Regions from separate parts of the Homo sapiens genome. Here region 1 is linked to region 2. Evidence: promoter capture Hi-C in 16 types of primary human blood cells and fetal thymus (Javierre and others, 2016). All regions are on one chromosome and are shown on one strand. The core of a region is centred on a gene start or on the middle of the fragment in contact, and the rest is flanking DNA. Distances in the headings are between cores, read along the strand shown. Region 1 overlaps CMKLR2 (chemerin chemokine-like receptor 2). Region 2 holds the start of ADAM23 (ADAM metallopeptidase domain 23).

The links. Contacts are between HindIII fragments. The CHiCAGO score rates a contact against its expected background, and 5 or more counts as called.
Region 1: a contact is called between a fragment that was not itself captured here and the fragment with the promoter of ADAM23 in region 2, in 1 of 17 cell types (megakaryocytes). The highest score is 5.1, in megakaryocytes.

What each region holds. Positions count from the first base shown.
Region 1 is chr2:206,177,547-206,182,963 of GRCh38, reverse strand. All of the region lies in intron 1 of CMKLR2 (chemerin chemokine-like receptor 2), which reads left to right. Among named protein-coding and RNA genes, the nearest start is that of SNORA41, 18 kb to the right of the region's middle. The HindIII fragment of the contact is 3,678 bases long and covers 738-4,415 here.
Region 2 is chr2:206,441,883-206,446,892 of GRCh38, reverse strand. It overlaps ADAM23 (ADAM metallopeptidase domain 23), which reads right to left and starts at 3,361. Exons shown (of 26, transcript NM_003812.4): 1 at 2,813-3,361; 2 at 1,369-1,586. The coding sequence starts at 3,026. RefSeq lists a silencer at 2,787-2,916. The HindIII fragment of the contact is 8,746 bases long and covers 1-5,010 here.

The DNA.
Region 1 (5,417 bases), core at 1,327-3,826, 260 kb after region 2:
TGGTGTCCAGGAATAAGCCAAGATCCTGATGATAGAACTGTGGGTCAGCCAGGTGCGGTGGCTCACTCCTGTAATCGCAGCACTTTGGGAGGCTGAGACGGGTGGATCACGAGGTCAGGAGTTCAAGACCAGCCTGGCCAAGAAGGTGAAACCTTGTTTCTACTAAAAATACAAAAAAAATTAGCGGGGCATGGTGGCAGTTGTAATCCCAACTATTCTGGAGGCTGAGGCAGGAGAATCACTTGAACTCGGGGGACAAAGGTTGCATGAGCCGAGATCACGCCACTGCACTCCAGCCTGGGTGACAAAGTGAGACTCCATCCAAAAAAAAAAGGAACTGTGGGTCAAGGTTGGAGAGAGTCTGGCAGTGACCCTGACTTAGGGGTGAACTCACAAAATCTCACCTGAAGTTTTAAAATTATCTTTGGTTTGGAATGGGAGCCAATCATTTCTTAAGCATCTGTTAATCACCTGTGATATATTAAGGTGTACAAGGCACTGGGGGTACAGCCATGACAGTCCTTATTCTCAAAGAGTTCACAGTCTAATAGAGAAGAAATTAAAAATAAATTAATGACAACATAACGTGTTAAGTGTGATAAGACAAGTATGACAGAAGGGGGAATGCTGTAGTGGTTAAGAGCTCAGGCCATGGGTCCAACAGATCTGACTTTAGATCCTGACTCTGCAATTGCAGGTTGTGTGATCTTGAGTAAGTTACTAAGCTTCTATAAGCTTCAGTGTTGTTTGTTAAAAATGAGACCAATAATAGTACAGTTGATCCTTGAACAACATGGGTTTCAACTGTGCAGATTCACTTAGGCATAGATTTTCTCCCTCTGCCCCTACCACCCCGAGACAGCAAGACTCACCCATCTTCTTCCCCCTCCACAACCTACTTATTGTAAAGATGATGAGGATGAAGCCCTTTATGATGGTCCACTTCCACTTAATGGCTAGTAAATACATGTTTTCTTCCTTATGGTTTCCTTTTTTTTTTTTTTTTTTTTTTGAGGTGGAGTTTTGCTCTTGTTACCCAGGCTGGAGTGCAGTGGTATGATCTTGGCTCACTAAAACCTCCACCTCCCAGTTCAGGCAATTCTCCTGTCTCAGCCTCCCAAGCAGCTGGGATTACAGGCATGCACCACCATACCCGGCTAATTTTGTATTTTTAGTAGAGACAGGGTTTCACCATGTCAGTCAGGCTGGTCTCGAATTCCTGACCTTAGATGATTCACCCACCTCGGCCTCCCGAAGTGCTGGGATTATAGGCGTGAGCCACTGCTCTCAGCCCCTTATGATTTCCTAATAACATTTTCTTTTCACTGGCTTACTTTATTGCAAGAATACGTATATAATACATAAAACATACAAAATATGTGTTAATTGATACTTTATGTCATTAGTAAGGCTTTTGATCAACAGAAGGCTATTAATAGTTAAGTTTTGGGGGAGTCAAAAGTTATATGCAAGTCAAGTTTGGTGGTATGTTCCTGTAGTCTCAGCTACTTAGGAGGCTGAGTTGGGAGGAATCCTTGAGCTCAGGAATTTGAATCCAGCCTGGGCAACATAGTGATACTCGTTTCTAAAAAAAAAAATAATAGGGCCAGGCATGGTGGCTCACACCTGTAATCCCAGCACTTTGGGAGACTGAGATGGGCAGATTACTTGAGGTCAGGAGATCAAGACAGCCAGCCTGGCCAACATGGTGAAACTCTGTCTCTACTAAAAATACAAAAATTAGCCAGCATGGTGGCAAAAGCCTGTAGTCCCAGGTACTTGGGAGGCTGAGGGAGGAGAATCACTTGAACCTAGGAGGCAGAGGTTGCAGTGAGCCGAGATCGCACCACTGCACTCCAGCCTGGGCATCAGAGTGAGAGAGTTGGTCTCAATAATAATAATAAGTCCGGGCATGGTAGCTTATGCCTAAAATCCCAATACAACACTTTGGGAGGCCAAGGTGGGCGGATCACCTGACGTCAGGAGTTCAAGACCAGCCTGGCCAACAAAGTGAAACACCATCTCTACTATAAATATAAAAATTAGCAAGGCGTGGTGACAGACACCTGTAATCCCAGCTATTAGGGAGGCTGAGGCAGGAGAATCACTTGAACCCGGGAGGCGGAGGTTACAGTGAGACGAGATTGTACCACTGCACTCCAGCTTGGGCAACAGGGCAAGACTCTGTCTCAAAATAATAATAATAATAATAATAATAATAATAATAATGGGCTGGGCACAGTTACTCACTCCTGTAATTCCAGCACTCTGGGAGGCTGAGGCAAGAGAATCACTTAAGGCCAAGAGTTCAAGACCAGCCTGGGCAACATAACAAGACCCCATCTCTACAAAAATAAAAATATCAGCCAGGCATGGTGATGTACTTCTGTAGTCCCAGCTACTTGGGAGGTGGAGGTGGGAGAATGACTTGAGCCTAGGAGTTTGAGGCTGCAGTGAGCTATGATTGTGCCACTGCGTTCTGACCTGGGTGACAGTGGCAGACTATGTCTCAATAACAACGAAAAGTTTTATGTAAATTTTTTTTACTGTGTGTGGGGTCAGCGCCTCTAGGCACCCCCCATGTTTTTCAAGGGTCACCTGTACTTACCCACAATGTAAGATCTTTTTTTTTTTTTTAAGAGACAGTTTCTCACTTTGTTGTCCAGGCTTGTCTCAAACTCTTAGGCTCAAGCAATCCTCCTGCCTTGGCCTCCCAAAGCACTGGGATTACAAGTGTATGTAAGATTCTTATGAGGATCAAATTAGATCATACATGTCTGGCATCTAGTAAATTCTCAATAACATTGACTATCATTTTATTATAAATTGTTTTAATAATAACAATAATAATTATTATAATTATCTGCAGGAAGGTAAGTCAGAAAATGTTTCTAAGAAAGGTGGCATTTGAATTGAATATTGAAGAACAAAAAAGTTGCTGGGCTAGGGTTGGGAGGAAGGGAATAAATTGCTTCTGTTTTTTGCCCTGCCGGATTTCTCAGAAGGTTTTAGGTAGGATGATGAATTCAGCGATAGTCAAATTGAATTTGAGATGCCTGTGAGCAACACAGGATGTTTTGACCTCTTTATTCTAACCCTACTATAATCTAAAATTTTACATACTTGCCTCATGTATGATTGTAACTCCATGAAATGAATATAACTATTAATCTTTTTTCTGCTTGATCTTCATTCAATACTACAGATAGAAATAGCACAAAATAAAATGGAAGAAGACAGAGTTACACACAGTATACTTTTGTGCTGATTGAAAAACTGACATTCAAGTCTTCTTAACCCAGAAAAACTGGTCTTGATAAGAAAAAAGGCAGAGGGGCAGGGCGCGGTGGCTTATTCCTGTAATCCCAGCACTTTGGGAGGCCCAGGTGGGTGGATCACGAGGTCAAGAGATCGAGACCATCCTGGCCAACATGGTGAAACCCTGTCTCTACTAAAAATACCTGGAGGCTGAGGCAGGAGAATCACTTGAACCCGGGAGGTGGAGGTTGCAATGAGCCGAGATGGCGCCACTGCACTCCAGCCTGGTAACAAGCAAGACTCCGTCTCAAAAAAAAAAAAAAAAAAAAAAGGCTGGGTGCGGTGGCTCATGCCTGTAATCCCAGCACTTTGGGAGGCCAAGGTGGGCGAATCACCGGAAGTCGGGAGTTCGAGACCACCCTGACCAACATGGAGAAACCCTGTCTCTACTAAAAACACAAAAATTAGCTGGGCGTAGTGGCACATGCCTGTAATTCCAGCTACTCGGGAGGCTGAGGCAGGAGAATTGCTTGAACCCGGGAGGTGAGGTTGAGGTGAGCCAAGATCACACCATTGCACTCCAGCCTGGTCAACAAGAGCAAAATTCTGTCTCAAAAAAAAAAAAAAAAAAAAAAAAAAAAAAAAAAAAAGGGACAGGGAGCGGGCACAAAATAAAACTTACTTTGGTAGAAATTATAAGAGACAAAATTTGGTATGGGCAAAAATAAAGTAAAACTGATTAATAAATCCAATCTTTGGCCAGGCACTCTGGCTTACACCTGTAATCCCAGCACTTTGGGAGGCTGAGATGGGTGGATCACTTGAGATCAGGAGTTTGAGACCAGCCTGGTCAACATGGTGAAACCCTGTCTCTACTAAAAATACAAAAATTAGCCAGGAGTGGTAGCCAGCATCTGTAATCCCAACTACTCAGGAGGCTCAAACAGGAGAATTGCTTGAGCCCAGGAAGCAAAGGCTACAGTGAGCCGAGATCGTGCCATGCATTCCAGCCTCTGTAACGGGAGGTTGTCTCAAAAAAACAAACAAACAAACAAACAAAACAAAAATAGAAGGCTGTCTCAAAAAAAAATCTAATCTTTGTCATAAATTATTATGGAAAAGAATTATTTCAATAAGATAAAAATTTAAATAAAGCTTAATTGCATTCTGTAGGAAATTAATATAGAAATTAAGTGGTCATAATCAAATTTAATCCAAAAGCTACCTTTTGGATGAGAAGCCATCCATATTGATATAATTCTGATTACTATGTTTGCTTTCATAAACATGGACTCAAAACATCCTTGGATGCAAAATCTCAGGTCAAAATCTCCAGTGACATCCAGATGGATTGGTCTAGGAAATAGTAGGAACTCTTTATCTAGAGTTTAAGAAGTCAGGGCAACAACAAATCCAGATTTTTCAGGAAAAAATTTGTTTTGAGGTGGGGTCCTGCTCTGTTGCCCAGGCTGGAGTGCAGTGGCTTGATCATAGCTCGCTGCAGCCTCAAACTCCTGGGCTCATGCAATCCTCTTGCCTTGGCCTCCTGAGTAGTTGGGACTACAGCATGAGCCACTAGATCTGGCTATTTTAAAAATTTATTTTTTGTAGAGACAGGTTTTTGCTATATTTCCCAGGCTGGTCTCAAGCAATCTCCCTGTCTCAGCCTCCCAAAGTGCTGGGATTACAGGTGTGAGCCACTGTGTCTGGCTGAAATACAGATTTTGAAGCTATCACTCTGTAAGTATTAATCCGTTTTCTTTTGCATCTGCCATAAAATAATAATGCATAGTAGGAATCTAATAAATGCTTGTTGAATTCTCTCTAGTCAGCCCTACAAGCATTACGAACTGAAGAATTATAACCGTAGAGTCATTCATTTTAATTTAGCAAGTACTAAATACTTTACAGAAAGGAACTCTCATGCTGGGAGAATGATAATCAGAGTGAAACTGAGGCTCACCAAGACTTGAACATATGGAGTATAACCACAAGTCCTATCAAAAAATATACTATATTTGCTGGGTATAGTTGCTCATGCCTATAATCCCAGCACTTTGGGAGGCTGAGGTAGGAGGATCACTTGAGCCCAGGAGTTCAAGACCAGCCTGGGCAACATAGTGAGACCTCATCTCTACAAAAAATTTAAAAATTAGCTG
Region 2 (5,010 bases), core at 2,112-4,611:
TTTCTCTTCTTTAAAGACAACACCCATTTCTCCTATCAATAAGACAAATGAGTTAGACATGACCTATTAGTCACCCCATTAAGTTATATAGGAGCTTATGGAGAAAAGGGCTGGCTGAGAACAGAGACACATTTATCTCACGGTGGGTAGCAGCCACTTCAAAATAATGTGAAAGAAAGTTCACCTCTCCAGTAATATTCAAGGTGAAGAAAGCACTTTCTCAGAGACCTAACTTGTAAAAAATAGTAAAAATTAAACATTCAGGTCACCTGAATTTTATATTAGCTGCTTTACAACATAGGAAAATCACCCAAAAGCCTTAAATTTCTAGCTCCCCATTTGTAAAATGGGGATAAATACTGTTACCACTCACCTATATTTTAGAAAACTAATAAAAAACAATGATGTAAACTGCAGATACTTTCTTAAATTCTAGATGTTTAGACAGTTAATTGCTAACTGTTGTTCTCACCTGAACAAGTACAGATCAAAATGAAACATTTAACATACAGACTCTATTTTCTGCTCCCGATAAACAACAGAAGAACCGATAATCCATTGTTTAAATCTGCTCGGGGTTCAAAATAATATTAATTCAAGTAAAGAATAGTAACACAGGGAAAAAGATCCCTTAAACTCTTTGGATATTAAACATTTGTCTTCTACTGATACCTTGGTAAATATCAGTTCCACTTTCTGAACTAACCTGAAAGTAAAGCAACTGCTCATAATCAATGCAGAGTAGGTACTGAAGAATTATGCCAATCAAAATTGGTCTTCATATTATGCAAATAATTTGTGTCTAGTCACCATAATCTTTTTAAATGTCAAATTGTTTACCTATTGAAAATACAACAGAAAATTTTTTTTTCCTCCTACTGATCAATTAAAGAAACAGACTGTTTAAACACTCAATTTCTAAGTGGAAAGACTGATGGAGACACTGCAGCCAAATAGCTTCTTGAAGCAATCTTGCATGTGCAGATTGAAAGCAGTTTTTATATCATGGGAGACAGTTTTATATCAAGGCAGAATACTGCACCCTTACATAAAGCCTCACAGAAACAAGTTAGAATCATAAACACATTCACTTAACTACTGTTCAGTGCCCAATGTACCTGAAAGATACATGGATATCATTTCAGGTATCAGAAAATTCTAGTTCCAGTTTAGTCAGAGAAGAGAAACAACAGTCTTATCCCAGTAGATCCCAAGTTAATTCCTTCCAGTTTCTCCCCTATCATAATATTAATTGCTTTCTTAATAAAATGCTGCAGTAAAATTTGTGAACTCAGATTCTGGCAGAAAATCAAATCAAAGGAAAACTCTTCATGATAGTTACTTTTGCATAGCCAGCCTCCTGCCTACCTTATTATGTTTTTGCTGGTGTCTTGCCTTTGTGTCAAGAACGTGATAAGGGCTTTCCGAGTCTTGGTTGATGTAATATATGAGTCTTGAAGGCAGTGTGATTTCTTTCTGCATTGCATTGCTGTAACTGATATTACTGCTGCTATTCTGTTGCAATGTATTGTCTTCATCTGCCAGGACTCCCAAATTTTTTTCTGCAGTTTCATTCCAATGCGGAGCTGGTGGAGGTAGGGGGGTGGGGGAGCAGAAAATACAAACATACACAAACACACACATATTTACCCCATAAATACATAAGCACTAAAATGCATTTTTCCTTTAATTTCAAACACAAAGTTTTCTATTTATAAGCAGTTAAGAAGTAGAGCTAGAGTAAAGCAAGTTATTTCAACAATAAAATGGCCTGGAGAAGTTAATAAATAGCCAATAAGGCTTATACAACTGTGCACTATTTATTTTGATTTATGTCTTATATATACATTTCTAGTCAGACTCAAATCTATACTTCTAAGTGTTGGGGGGGGGGTAGAATGAACTTGAGGGAAGAAGAGTCATTAAATGAACATGTTCAGGGGTCCTGCCCCCGATCTCCACCCCTTCTCTGAGTCCACAGAAGCACAACTCTACTCTGCCTAGTGGCATCCCATCCAAGAGCTAAGAACGCTCCTAAGATAACTTGAGTACTGAATTTATGGATACCGAATATTAATCGACTCTTTTAACAAAATGGACAATTCCCTTCTCTTTTAACTTTAAGATGAGCAAACATACTTTGCCATGTAGGGATACAGATGCTGGCAGCTTCCCAATTTCTTTTTATTTTCCTGACAAAGCCAGCTTTCTGCTTTCAGTGACTTCCAATCATCAATATATAGAAGATGGTATTATATTAATTGTTCATTATAATGACAAGCACTTTGAGAAATCAGAACCAAAGGTCGTGCATGAAGTATGTCTTCAGCACCTTAATTCTTTGGTCCCCGAAGTGTGCCTCCCCCACCTTAATTCCAACCGCACTGAATGCGCCGGATACGAAATTTGAGGAAACAGCCCATTACCACTATTATCACTACATCCTCCCCGCATTCACATTAAGGTTCCACCACGCAAGTAGCAACTTGCTCCCTCGCTGTATTTCCCATCCACTGGTTGCCCCTCCGCAAGTTGCACAGAGATCGCTGAGGGACCCAGGATCCACTAAACACCTCCCAGTGGAACCAACAAGAATTGGAATGGGTTTTTCGCGAATGCAACAGAAATGGACTTCCAAAAGTGAACTGGGATGAATGGGGGTTTGGGAACGAGAAGGGTGGAAAGACAGGCAGGGAGGGAAGGAAAGGCCGAGCCGGGGACAAGCCCGGAGCACACGGACCCGCGCGCCCTTCGCTTTCCTCTGCAGGGCCCCGCGGGAAAGCCAACGCAAAGGGCACGGGGCCATACCCACCGCTGGGCGCAGCAGCCCCCCAGGCGCGGGGCCGGGACGAGGCGGCGAGCGGAGGCAGCAGGAGAAGGACGAGAAGCAGGCGGCAGGGCGGCGTGCGGGCCGGGGCGCTGGCAGGCACCGAGCCGGCGGGGCCGCGTTGGGGGCCGCAGGAAGCGCCGGCAAGGCTGCAGCCCGCCAGGGGCGGCTGCCGCGAGCTGCTGCCGGGCGGCTTCATGGCTCATAGCTCCCGGGCGCCGCTCCGTGTGGCCGGCGAGAGCGCCGGGCTAGCTGCGGGGCGGCCGCGGGCGGAGCCGGTCACGCCGGCTCGGCGCGCATGGTGCCGCGGCGGGCAGGGGGCTCCGGGCTCGGGGCACGGGGCGCGGGGCTCGGGGCTGGGCGGCGCCCCCTTTCCCGGCTCGCCTAGCCTCGCAGCCACTCCCGGGGCGGGACGCAGAGGAGTCCAGGGGTCCTCGCCGCTCCGCCAACTTGGAGCCTCCCCAGCGGCTACTCCCTCCCCCGGCGGGCGCGGCCGCTTCAGCGACTGCGGGGGCTGCCGCCGGGCCTGAGGATGCTGAGGCGGCGCGCGGGAGCGAGCGGCGCGGGGACGCGCGGGAGCGAGCGGCGCGGGGACGCGCGGAGCGGGCGTGCGCCCCGCCCCCCGAGAGCGCGCCCGAGCGGGGCTTCGGGTGCTGATGCTGTTGCTGGATGCTGTGCTGCTGCTGTTGCCTGGCCCGGAACGCACTGCGCATGCTTTGTTGGGGGGCGGGGAAGGGGGTAAAGCAGCAGAGTGATGCAGCAGCCCAAGCAGCATCGGAGGTGACGGGTGGTACCTCAAAAGATGGGGGCGGTGGAGGGGGAGCCGGCAGTCACGGATAAGCCAGAAGAAAGAGAGTACGGGGGTTTCCAGGCCAGAGACAGGGATGATCGGGAGAAAACAACCAGCCGAAGTCCACCTGCCTTTTCCACCACCCCAGACTTCACATACCCTCTCCTATTCCAACCTCTTCCTGCTCTGGATAAACTAAGGCCACGCATCTCCTTCTTAATCCCTTATATATTTGCTTCCTGCATGTAAATATAAAGGATTGCAGCCGGGGAGGTAAAAATAGCGCGGCTCCTCATTCAGATTGCCAGCAGCGGGTGGGACTGCGGCTGAGAAGAGCGTTTGCGCCGCAGGCTGGCGCGGAGTGGCAGGAATCCCCCGCGCAGGGGCGCTCTGCCCCGGCCTGTGTCCTCCCTGCCGGTGCCTGGGGTCTTTGAGGAAAGCACAAGAAGCCGGACGGTGTTTGCTCAAAAGTTCAGAAAGTATGACTGGGCATATTCGGGAAGGACTTCGACATTCTGGCGGGGAAGCAATACAGAGATTAGAAACCAAGTGTGTGGCAGCTATCTTGGGAAATCCGTTGTTTGTCAACCACGGGGATGGGCACACATTTAGGAGGACACATTTCTATTTTTGAGATCCAGTCCTGACTTCTGCAGAGGAAAGGGGAAGTTTTCTCTCGTTGCTGTAAAAAATGTAAATCCCTGACTTCGGTGGGTTCGCAGCCACTAAATCTGATGGCTTCAGATAAGAGTCTGTGGCATATTTCTGCCCCCAAACTCTCATAATGCAAGCATTCATTTATTCACCCTCCCAATGACAATCTGAGTGATAACAATGTTGTCTTACTCCGACATCCACGGGGTGAGGGCTGGGGTGGAGAATTCCATGATTAAAAGAAAGAATGTGGGTATAAAAGTGCCATGGCCATGACAGAACTCAGTGTTAGCCATCATCTTCTCCACTCACACTTAACAAAGAGAAAAGAAGAAGACATATACGCGCGCGCACACACACATTACAAAACTGTTAGGTAAATACTGAGATAACTTCCTTTCTATGTTGAGCTAGGATATTATTATCACATATTTATTCCTGTAAATTTGTAATTGTTGCTACCTCCCCCATGTGAGGGCAACAACAGTTTTCCCTTCTGCACACCATTGTGTCCCTAGGACCTCACACAGTGTCTGAGGCACAGAGAAATCGCTTGGAAAATATGTACTAAATGAATAAAGAAATGGGTGATACACACAAGCAGAAGTCACACTTGGGGCAGGCTAGTGAACACTCTAGCCCCACCGGAGTGCCCACTGCAGGTCAATGTTCTTAGGGTTGTCTCCCTCAAGTCAAGTATTCTCTGGCTAGGTTTTCCAAATTTATATTTGACACAATA